Linked DNA regions of Homo sapiens: region 2 is linked to region 1. Evidence: promoter capture Hi-C in 16 types of primary human blood cells and fetal thymus (Javierre and others, 2016). All regions are on one chromosome and are shown on one strand. Each heading gives the region's core, a stretch centred on a gene start or on the middle of the fragment in contact. The rest is flanking DNA. Distances are from core to core; before and after follow the strand shown. Region 1 holds the start of ANKEF1 (ankyrin repeat and EF-hand domain containing 1). Region 2 overlaps TMX4 (thioredoxin related transmembrane protein 4).

Evidence for each region. Contacts are between HindIII fragments. The CHiCAGO score rates a contact against its expected background, and 5 or more counts as called.
Region 2: a contact is called between a fragment that was not itself captured here and the fragment with the promoter of ANKEF1 in region 1, in 1 of 17 cell types (total CD4 T cells). The highest score is 7.4, in total CD4 T cells.

What each region holds. Positions count from the first base shown.
Region 1 is chr20:10,031,610-10,036,910 of GRCh38, reverse strand. ANKEF1 (ankyrin repeat and EF-hand domain containing 1) reads right to left here and starts at 1,924. Exons shown (of 11, transcript NM_022096.6): 1 at 1,578-1,924; 2 at 1,269-1,332. All of the region lies in intron 3 of SNAP25-AS1 (SNAP25 antisense RNA 1), which reads left to right. RefSeq lists a silencer at 1,584-2,133. The HindIII fragment of the contact is 1,358 bases long and covers 1,159-2,516 here.
Region 2 is chr20:8,013,293-8,018,688 of GRCh38, reverse strand. The region is part of intron 1 of TMX4 (thioredoxin related transmembrane protein 4); the gene reads left to right. Among named protein-coding and RNA genes, the nearest start is that of TMX4, 3.8 kb to the left of the region's middle. The HindIII fragment of the contact is 1,018 bases long and covers 2,894-3,911 here.

The DNA.
Region 1 (5,301 bases), core at 675-3,174:
TCCTCAAGACTCTTTTCTGTCCTCACACACTCCCCTGGTGTCTCGCCCTATCCCATGACCCTCGACCCTCAGCCCAACTCTCACTCTGTCACCCAGGCTGGAGTGTAGTGGCACAATCTCGGCTCACTGCAACCTCCACCTCCTGGGTTCAAGCGATTCTCCTGCCTCAGCCTCCCGAGTAGCTGGGATTACAGGTGCCCACCACCACACCTGGCTAATTTTTGTATTTTTAGTAAAGACAGGGTTTCACCATGTTGGCCAGGCTGATCTTGAACTCTTGACCTCAGGTGATCCACCCGCCTCAGCCTCCCAAAGTGTTGGGACTACAGGCGTGAGCCACCGGGCCAGGCCTCCTTTGCCTTTTAATCTGTTTATAACATGCGGTGGACTAGGGAACCAACTGAGGCTGCCTCAGAGTCATCCACTTGGACTTTGCTGCACGGCTTGGTGACACTCACCTTAGCTGCTATTTATGGCTTGTTTTATTATTATCGGCCATATTCCGATTAGGTGCGGTGTCATCATACTGCATATGTATATGTGTCATCTATGGAATAGGGCAAGATGCTCCTACATAGGTAATGATTAGACTGAATCAATGCCACTTGATTTGTGAAAATAAGGATTTCCCAATCAGGGACTTCAATGTTGCCTCTGTTAGCACCCATCTCTAACGGAGAATTAATTAGCAGCTACAGTGATGAATTCAGTAGGTCCATGGGTCGGTTTCCTGTGGACTGCCTCCCTCCCAGCTAAAGCCCTGAAGTGCTGGGGAGAGGGCAGCACCCTGTATAGTGTCCTTCACAATCAACTGCTAAGACTGACCAAGAGCTCACCCCACTGCAGGAAATCACACAAGTGTAGCCCTTGGGTCCTGGGTTCCTTGTAAATTGAGCAGCATATAGGATCCTCCACATACAAGCACACCTGTACTTTTCCCCAGCATGACCCTGGGCCACCTTAGTCACATCTAACCATCTACCAAGGTAGTGGAATAGAGCAGAATGTCTTGACTTGAGGTCCATGTTCGGGGTCTGAATACTCGGAAATTACATGAAAATCTGTGGGAATCTGTGTGTGTTCAGGTCATTTAACTCTCAAAGGGGGGCTGTGCGACAAGGAAGGATCATTAGAAAGAGGAATGGAGGAAGACAAGCTTGGTACAGTGGAATGTAGGGTTTGAGGTGGGGAAATCCGTTGTGATCCTCCCTTCCCTGTATCATTATTTACACAAACTAGTTGGATATAAATATGGATATGCTACCTACCTAGTTTTTACCTCAGTTTCTGCATCTGTGAACTGGCAATAGCAATGGTGCCCACTTCATGGGACTGTGTGAAAAGGAAATGAGATATGATCCTTGTAAAACATTTAGCAAAGTCCTTCAATATAGGCTCCTTATGAATACACCAAACTTTTGCGGGTTTCAGCTCACCCACAAGTGTAAGCGATAGTTTACATGTTGGGGGTTCTCTACTGTGCTTTCCACTTTTTAGTCTCCAGAAAAATCTGGAGAAGAGAGGAGTGGAGGGGGTAGAGATGTAACGTCAAAGGAAAAGCCATGTGTCATGCTCACCTCTTAGTCTTCCGGGCGATCAGAAGCCAGGGATCTCTGGGCACCTATGTGCCTGGGCCTGCTGGGGCGACCGGGGAGGCCCCTGCTCTCGTCCTCTGACGCTCAGCGCTGGCCCAGCCGCGACCTTGGGCTCCCGGAGCCCGGCGGAGGCGCCCAGGCGTGAATGATGTCCCTTGGGTAGGGCTGGTGAGCTGGCGCGCGGGACAGCAGGGCTGGGTGTATGTGTCCATGGGCCCCGGGTCCCCGGAAGGCGAGCGCGCGGGCAGGTGAGCGCAGGGGGCGGGGTGGAAGCCGGAGGGACCGGGCTGATTGTGAGCTTCCGCCACGCAGGGCGCGGCTGCCGGGGCAACCGCAGCGTGCGCGGTGGGGCGGTGCTCGCCTCCGCCTCCGCCTCCGCCTCCGCCTCCGCCTCCGCCTCCGCCTCCGCCTCCGCCCCCGCCCCCGCCTCCGCCTCCGCCCCTCGCGCCTGGCTTCGACGCCAGGTGGCCGGCCTGGGCGGGATGGGGTAGCTGCGCTGGGTGTTCCAGGGCGGAGCGCAGAATGCTGCTGTCTTGAGGATTCCGCCCTTCTCTCATTCTCTTCTCCCACCTCCTGCCCTGGGTCAGAACGTAATTTAGTTATAAAATTAAAGCTGCATATGGCAATTAAAAAATGAAGTAAAATATACAATAAATATTTAGTTTACAAAGTACAATTAAATGAAAAATACAATAAATTACACAATAAAGCGAAAGTGAACCTACTCTCAACTGCCACAGATTCTTGCAAATCTTCCCAGAAATTTTCTTTCCATACTCTAGGATGCATATATGCTTAAAAAATATTTATACACAAATGGAAGCAAATATGGAGATCACTTTATTTCAGGGCCTACAAATGCACCATAACACCCCTCTCTCTCCCTCCACACATGCTTTTTGGCGGAAAATTCTGAAAGCTTTGGTTTGATTATGTGAATGTAAAACATATATATGTGTGTCTATATATATATGCTTTTTAATGCAGTATGTAATTGCTTCCAATTAAAAACAGTAATTCCTTACACCAGCCTACCCTATTCTACTCAGAGACTGTTTAAAAATGTTAAGAGCGAAGACATGGAATCAACCTAAGTGCTCATCAATGATAGACTGGCTAAAGATAATGCGGTACATATACACCATGGAATACTATGCAACCATATAAAGGAACAAAATTATGTCTTTTGCAGGAATATGGAGCTGGAGGCAATTATCCTTGGCAAGCTAACGCAGAAACAGAAAACCCAATACTGCATGTTCTCACTTATGAGTGAGAGCTAAGTGATGAGAACACATGGACACATAGAGGGGAACAGCACACACTGGGGCCTATTGGAGGGTAGAAGGTGGAGAGTGGGAGGAGGGAGAGGATCAAGAGAAATAACTAATGGGTACTAATCTTAATACCTGGGTGAGAAAATAATTTGTGCAACAAAACCACATGACACAAGTTTACCTATATAACAAATCTGCACATGTACCCCTGAACTTAAACGTCAAATAAAAAATAATAAAAATGTTATTAAGGACTATTTCATGCACACCAAAATATACTGTATGATATATGGAAAGTACATACCATACCATACCATAGCTAAAGAAATACCATAGCTAAAGAAAAAGAAAGCTAGGAAAAATAAAGGAAAAAGGAAAAGGAAAAAAAAGTCTGCCTCTACTGCTGTACTTATATGTATTTCTTCCCAACACTGCATCCTCCTCTTCCTGTTCCCAGAGATAATACCTGTTCTGAATTTTACATTTATCATCCCAGCCTCTTAAAAATGCATTGCTACATTGAATGCCTCCCTAAATAATGCATGTTTAATATTGCATATTTTGAGAATTTATAAAAATGTGGTAGAATGTTGTGTATTGTTTTGATGACTTTTTTCCTTTCAACGTCTTGTTTTTGAAATGTATCTTTGTTGGTATGTTTAATTGGAGTTCCTTTATCTAAACAGCTGTAGGCTATTCCATTATATTACCATTCCACACCCCTTTCAAATCAATTCCACTATTGATAGACATTTGGGATGTTTCCAGAATTTGCTACTAAAAGCAATACTACTAAGATCATGTTTATAAATGTCTTTGGACGCACACGTTCAAGAGTTTCACTAGAGTATATGTCTAGGAGTTAAATTTCTGGGTCATAGGTTATTTATAACATCAAGATAAAGACAACTTGTTTTCCCGACATATACAGCAATTTAGACTCCCATCAGCAGTGTGTATCTTAGCCAAAACTTGGTTTTGTCACACAAAAAACTTTCTGCCAATCTTGGTATCAATGCTCTTTTATAATTTACTTTACGTGACCTGATTACTAATTATTAATCTGTAAGTTTGATTCCTTAGAGATATTTGAGTGTAAATTTATTGTCAAACTGTGTCCAAAATTGGTGGGTTCTTGGTCTCACTGACTTCAAGAATGAAGCCAGGGACCCTCGCGGTGAGTGTTACAGCTCTTAATGTGGCGCATCTGGAGTTTGTTCCTTCTGATGTTCGGATGTGTTCGGAGTTTCTTCCTTCTGGTGGGTTCGTGGTCTCGCTGGCTCAGGAGTGAAGCTGCAGACCTTCACGGTGAGTGTTACAGCTCTTAAGGCGGCGCTTCTGGAGTTGTTGGTTCCTCCTGGTGGGCTCGTGGTCTCGCTGGCTTCAGGAGTGAAGCTGCAGACCTTCGCAGTGAGTGTTACAGCTCATAAAAGCAGTGTGGACCCCAAGAGTGAGCAGCAGCAAGATTTATTGCAAACAGTGAAAGAACAAACCTTCCACAGTGTGGAAGGGAACCCAAGCGGGTTGCCACTGCTGGCTCAGGCAGCCTGCTTTTATGCTCTTATCTGGCCCCACCCACATCCTGCTGATTGGTAGAGCCGAGTCCTCTGTTTTGACAGGGCGCTGATTGGTGCGTTTACAATCCCTGAGCTACACCCAAAGGTTCTCCATGTCCCCACCAGATTAGCTGGCTACAGAGTGTGGACACAAAGGTTCTCCAAAGCCCCACCAGAGTAGCTAGATACAGAGTGTGGCTTGGTGCGTTCACAAACACTAAGCTAGACACAGGGTGCTGATTGGTGTGTTTACAAACCTTGAGCTAGATACGGAGTGCCGATTGGTGTATTTACAATCCCTGAGCTAGACATAAAGGTTCTCCACGTCCCCACCAGACTCAGGAGCCCAGCTGGCTTCCCCCAGTGAATCCCGCACGAGAGCTGCAGGTGGAGCTGCCTGCCAGTCCCGCGCCGTGCGCCCGCACTCCTCAGCTCTTGGGTGGTCGATGGGACTGGGCGCCGTGGAGCAGGGGGTGGTGCTCATCGGGGAGGCTCGGGCGCACGGGAGCCCATGGAGGGGGTGGGAGCTCAGGCATGGCGGGCTGCAGGTCCCGAGCACCCCCCGCGCGAAGGCAGCTAAGGCCCGGTGAGAAATTGAGCGCAGCGCCTGTGAGCTGGCACTGCTGGGGGACGGAGTACACCCTCCGCAGCTGCTGGCCCGGGTGCTAAGCCTCTCATTGCCTGGGGCTGGAAGGGCTGGCCGGCTGCTCCGAGTGCGGGGCCCGCCAAGCCCACGCCCACCCAGAACTCCAGCTGGCCCGCAAACGCCGTGCGCAGCCCCGGTTGCCGCTCGCGCCTCTCCCTCCACACCTCCCTGCAAGCTGAGGGAGCCGGCTCCGGCCTTGGCCAGCCCAGAAAGGGGCTCCCACAGTG
Region 2 (5,396 bases), core at 2,153-4,652, 2.0 Mb after region 1:
AAGGAGATGGGAAACTACAGTTTTGAGTTAGGAGAAAGAAAGGGATTTGTTGATTATAGTTTAACCTTATAATAGGAAGTGACCATTTGAAAGAGGCTTGCAGTGGATGGTGGGCAGATGTCTGAGCGGGCTTGAGAGACCATCATGGTGGGCTTGCAGACTCTCTCTCTCTCTCTCTCTCTCTCTCTCTCTCTCTCTCTCTCTCTCCCCCTCCCTCCCTCCCTCCCTCCCTCCCTCCCCCTCTCTCTCTCTCTCCTCTCTCTCTTCTCTCTCTCTCTCTCTCCCTCCCTCCCTCCCTCTCTCTCTCTCTCCTCTCTCTCCTCTCTCTCTCTCTCTCTCCCTCCTCTCTCTCTCTCTCTCTCTCTGTCTCTCTCTCCCCTCCCACAACTCCTTTCCACCCTACCTGCCCCCCTCCCGCCCCCACCCCCCAAACATAAAATCTTTCAGGAAATTGCCACATCTCTTTAGCCTGTGGTTTCTGGCAATCTGTATACTACTATTGAATCTTTGTTTTACGTTGAGGACACAGACAGAAAATTGGATCTTTCCTTTATCCAAGACCAAGTTTTGATTCTTTCAATTTAAATTGCAAGCAGGTGCCTATGGAGTGAAAACCTCAGTGTGAGATCAGAGCCAAAATTTATGTCACACAGCAGATTACATTGCTCGAAGAACATAAGGCATATCACCCCTTCAAATGTGCATTTACCTCTTAGTCACAAAGAAGGGGATATTTTAGACCTCCAAATGAAATACCCTTGGTATCATAATAAATCAATGAAATTATTAAAGGGAACTGTAGACATGAATTATTAAAATATTCCACTTAACTATTTTTGGAAGAAGGTGAGGGGGTCATATTCTATTTGAGAAACTTTTAAAATAAGTGGAGCTGTGTTAAGACTTCCATGTTTGTAATAATTTTAAGAGTTTGGGATAAACTGCATTTTGTCAGCCAATACTACAGAAAGTTCTCTTTTCAGTAGGTGCTTACAAAATGGACTTTTTCCTAGATGTCATCTTTCAGGGTAAAACTGAGTTTGCATATGTATGTAAGAAAAGTTAAAACAGAAAGGCCTCCTCATTTTTAATGACTTCAACTCCTCTATGGTTCCTTTTGGAATTGCTTTTTTTTTGGTAATAGAATTAAGAACACTAAAGCCTCAATAAGTTTTTGAGGGAGAGCCAACAACATCTGTGCTTGGCCATGTTGATGGTTCAAATTTTACTTTTTTATGAATGTATAAACCTAAACATAGTAATCAATTGCTCTGAGTTTGTCATGTGTCCAGTTGTATGGAATATGCTTGGCCTGTGATGCCAGATGAGTCTTGTAATCTGGAAGTAAGCTGTGTAGACACAAGGTCATTTTAGTAGACATTCTCTTTTTATCGAGTGCACTTCAGAATAGGTGGCTAGGAAGCAAGGCTGTCAATGAAAATTGATCCAAACCATTCCATCCAACTTCTTTATACGCACTAAAACCCAAGTGCTCATCCTGAAGAAATATTTTGGTTCTTATCTATTTGTGATCTATTTTTTTCTGTATTATCAGGTGATACTCCTCCTCCTTGCTGTGAAAAAAACTCCAGTACTTAAAAAAATATAAAATTCATTATATCCTCCATACCACTAGAGGCCTGCTATGAATTTCTAAGAATTCATTTAAATAGCCTATACGTTACCAGATTTTTTTTTTTATGTATATAACAGAGAAAAACAAAATGCATTAAAATTAGCTTCATCTTGACACTTAGTTCAGATGAGCTGGTCATACATAAATGGAAATTGTTAGTAGTTCAAAGATGTTGTAGTTAACTTCTTTAAAGAAACAGATTGAGAAGCTTTTGTTGTAGTTAACTTCTTTAAAGACACAGATTGAGAAGCTTTCCGATATCAAAATGTATTCATTACTTTGAATGAGAGTTCTTTATTTGTTCATTTGCTTATATGCGCTCTTTCATCTGGGAATTTTTTCTTTTATACGCCACGTCATACAGATCCCCTCTAATGCAGTTTCTGGTTATATTGGTATAGATAATTTATTCTTAAGAATCTAGCAGTATTTGGCAGCCCTGAGACATGAAAAGCTTCTATTATGAAATTAAATTTGGTTATTTTTTCTTAGTCTTTCAAACAGTCAATTTTTTGGATTCTTGCAATTGAATTTCCAGTGTTTTAAAAATGTATGAGTTAAAAGTATATTTGCAGTAATTCACCGTTTCTATTCTGATGATTTTAGAAATCTGAAAAGTTCTCCCATTGCTACATACATTTTCTTTAATGCTATGGGCTTATTGTTGTTATTATTATTTTTTAGATGGAGTCTCACTTTGTCGCCCAGGCTGGAGCGCAGTGGTGCGATTTCAGCTCAGTGTACCCTCTGCCTCCCGGGCTCAAGCAATTCTCCTGCCTCAGCCTCCCAAGTAGCTGGGAATACAGGCACCCGGCTATGGGCTTATTGTATACTCGTTTGCCCTTTTTCTGAATTAGGAAAAATGATCTAATCTTTAAACTACTGTATGATGCATGCTTTTCTCTATTGCCATTGTTTTATACTATTCTTCATTCAGTTCCTTTGCAACCTTTTGCTACTTTCAACATTTGCTTGGCTCTCATTATGTCAGTCCTGGAGAAAATGACTTTTGTTCTTTTGAAACATGGAAGTATGTAATATGATACATTCTGGTGGCTTTTTCCCCCAGAAGAAATAGATAGCCAAGTGGCTTAATTTTGACATTCAAGCTGATACTCAGAAGAAAAGTATGTCTTTGGGTTAGTTTACCTCTGTAAAGCATATAAATCTTTATAAATTATTGCCTTTTCTTATTTTTGTTTTTGGAATGATCATGTTTCAAAATTTAAATTAAACACCTGGTGATGGAGCAAAGCTTTGTTTATTTCCATAGGACATCTAGGTTTTAGTATTATCTTTCCAGCCTTCCTTTATACCTGGAGAGAATGTGTTGAACATCATTACCTTAACTTGCCCATGTCAAGTTAGAATTTCTTGCAGTTTAATAGATTGTCTTGATGTCTTGATGGAATGTTTGAGAGACAACTCACTAAATGCTTGTGTGTCAGGTTCAGTGTTGGGGAGCTGGGAAGGTGAAGAAGAATGAGCCTTCCAAGAGATTGTGCTCTGAAGGAAATATGTAGTATAAGTTATGTTCATTTATTTAGTAAATGTTTAATGAATGCTTCCTCTGTGTTGGACATTCATCAGTGCTTCCCAACAGGACACTATTGGCATTTTGGGTGGACAGTTCTTTGGTGTGTGGGAATGGCCCACGTGTTGCAGAACCTTTGGCATACTTGCCCATTATATTCTAGTAGTAGTCTCAGTCATGCGACATCAAAAAATTGTAACTCCCATTCCCTGTGCATACTTCCAAATGCTTCTAATTGAAAACCACTGCTCTAGATACTGTTATGGGTATTTAAAAACATGCGAATGTTTGATTTTAGATGGTTTCCACAAAGGGTTTAAAGCCTCATTAAAACTTGTCATCCTTACCACTTCCATCCACCTCCTCCACTTCCTCATCATCACAATCACAGTTCATAGTTACATGGCTTACATCACATGTTCCAACTAACTGTTTTATTTGATCATTCCAGCAATCTAGTGCGGTATTATTCCCATTCTTACTGACTAGTGGAGATAAAAAAAAAAAAAAGAAAAAAAGAAGCTGGCTAATGCCAGATCCTTAGTAAGTGGGGAGCAAGGCCATAACTATAATGCAGGCCTGAGCTTTGCAGTTTCTGATCTGCAGTTCCCAGTTCTCCTGGGGAGCCTGGAGGAAGGCACAGGGCCTGGTTGACTCTTGCTTTGGCCCTCAGCTAGCCAGCACCCTGACTCACATGAGGGTAGGCCTTGTTCGTGCTGGATTCTAAGGCCCATCCAAGCTTTTACCATCTCTCTAGTTTCTGCAAGTAAAGAACATTTTTACTGTATACTCATTCCTGACACTGTTCACCACTTAAACAGGTGCCCTGCCTTCCCATCATCGCAATGCCCCAGGAAAATTCTTTCTCACTATGCTTTGGTTGTGTCTTGCATGGTCCTATCACAACCAGTAATTACACATTTATTGATATGCTTTTGTACTAGGTCTTTCTTTGACTACCTCTATTATAAGCTTTTAAGTAAAGGAACAAGGTTATTTTTTTCCTTCCCTGTTTATCTCCAAAGCTTTAATAACTAACAAGTAGTTTGTGTTCAAAAAATACTTTGTGACTAGGTAAATGAGTGAATAATAGATTAATTGCTCTTTTATCAGGCACTTCTTCAAGCATATCACTGAAGGAGACATCTTTATATATTTTCTGAAGTCTTAAGGATAATTACTATCATCTCCCATTTGTTCACTGATGGAATATTTATTGTGGTGGCCTAGGACCTTCCAGGTTCTGTTCTGTGGTGCAAGTCATGCAGCAGTCACTGCTTTCGTGGAGTGTTAATTCTAGTGAAAGTCATGAATTCCACTTTCTCTAGCAGGTGTCATGATTTTCATAGAGCTGCCAGTTTTTATGTTTCCTCTACCTTTTGTGATAACACGTTCTAGAAATTATTGTCCAAAGAAATAAATTTGAGCATAAGGCTTTCAATTCATGGGTCATTCCACATTTGCCAAAAGGAAGAATAACACTTGATGTAGTTAAGGCATCTTTTGTTGACACTTTGATTTAGTTTCCTTTATTAAGTCATAGAAAGATGAACCTAGTATACCTCTTTCCTCTTCATTGTTGCTGAGTATTCTGAGCATTTTGATCAAAGTTCTACTAAGTGAAAATTGACTGGATCTGTTATTGACTGTCTCATTTCTGCAAAGATAAGAAAAAGTCAGGAGAAAAGAGAGTGTACTGAGAAACACTGGTGAAATTAGAGTCAAGACAGAAGAAGAGTTGTTCATTATTGGTAAATAAAAATTTATCGTTAATAAAATTTCCTTTCTAGGAAATAAATATAAGTAAGTCCTTCTCTGAAATATTTAGCACACCTAATGAAATCTTAAACCAAATTCAGTAAGTTCATGGAATAAAAGATTCAAGGTCCTTCAACCTCGTTCCATCAACAAAACACGGACAACATGGACAACAAAAACATTCTGTTGAACAAAAAACGTGGACAACAAAAACATGCTGTTGAATTTTGTTTCCCAGAAATGGTTAAAAACATTGCACTGACATGTAAGTTGGTGTAATTTACCAGAGCTTTTTGGCTATCTGGAATATATTTCAAATATGTTTATGAAGTTTACTAATTTTACATACCACTGTGACCTGCAAACAAGTCAACAAAAGTTCAGTAGAAAAGATAACAATTTACAGTTTAAATGACTATAATGGAGCTAATTGCTCTTGGAGGCTCTTAAGGATTATGTGTAAGAGAC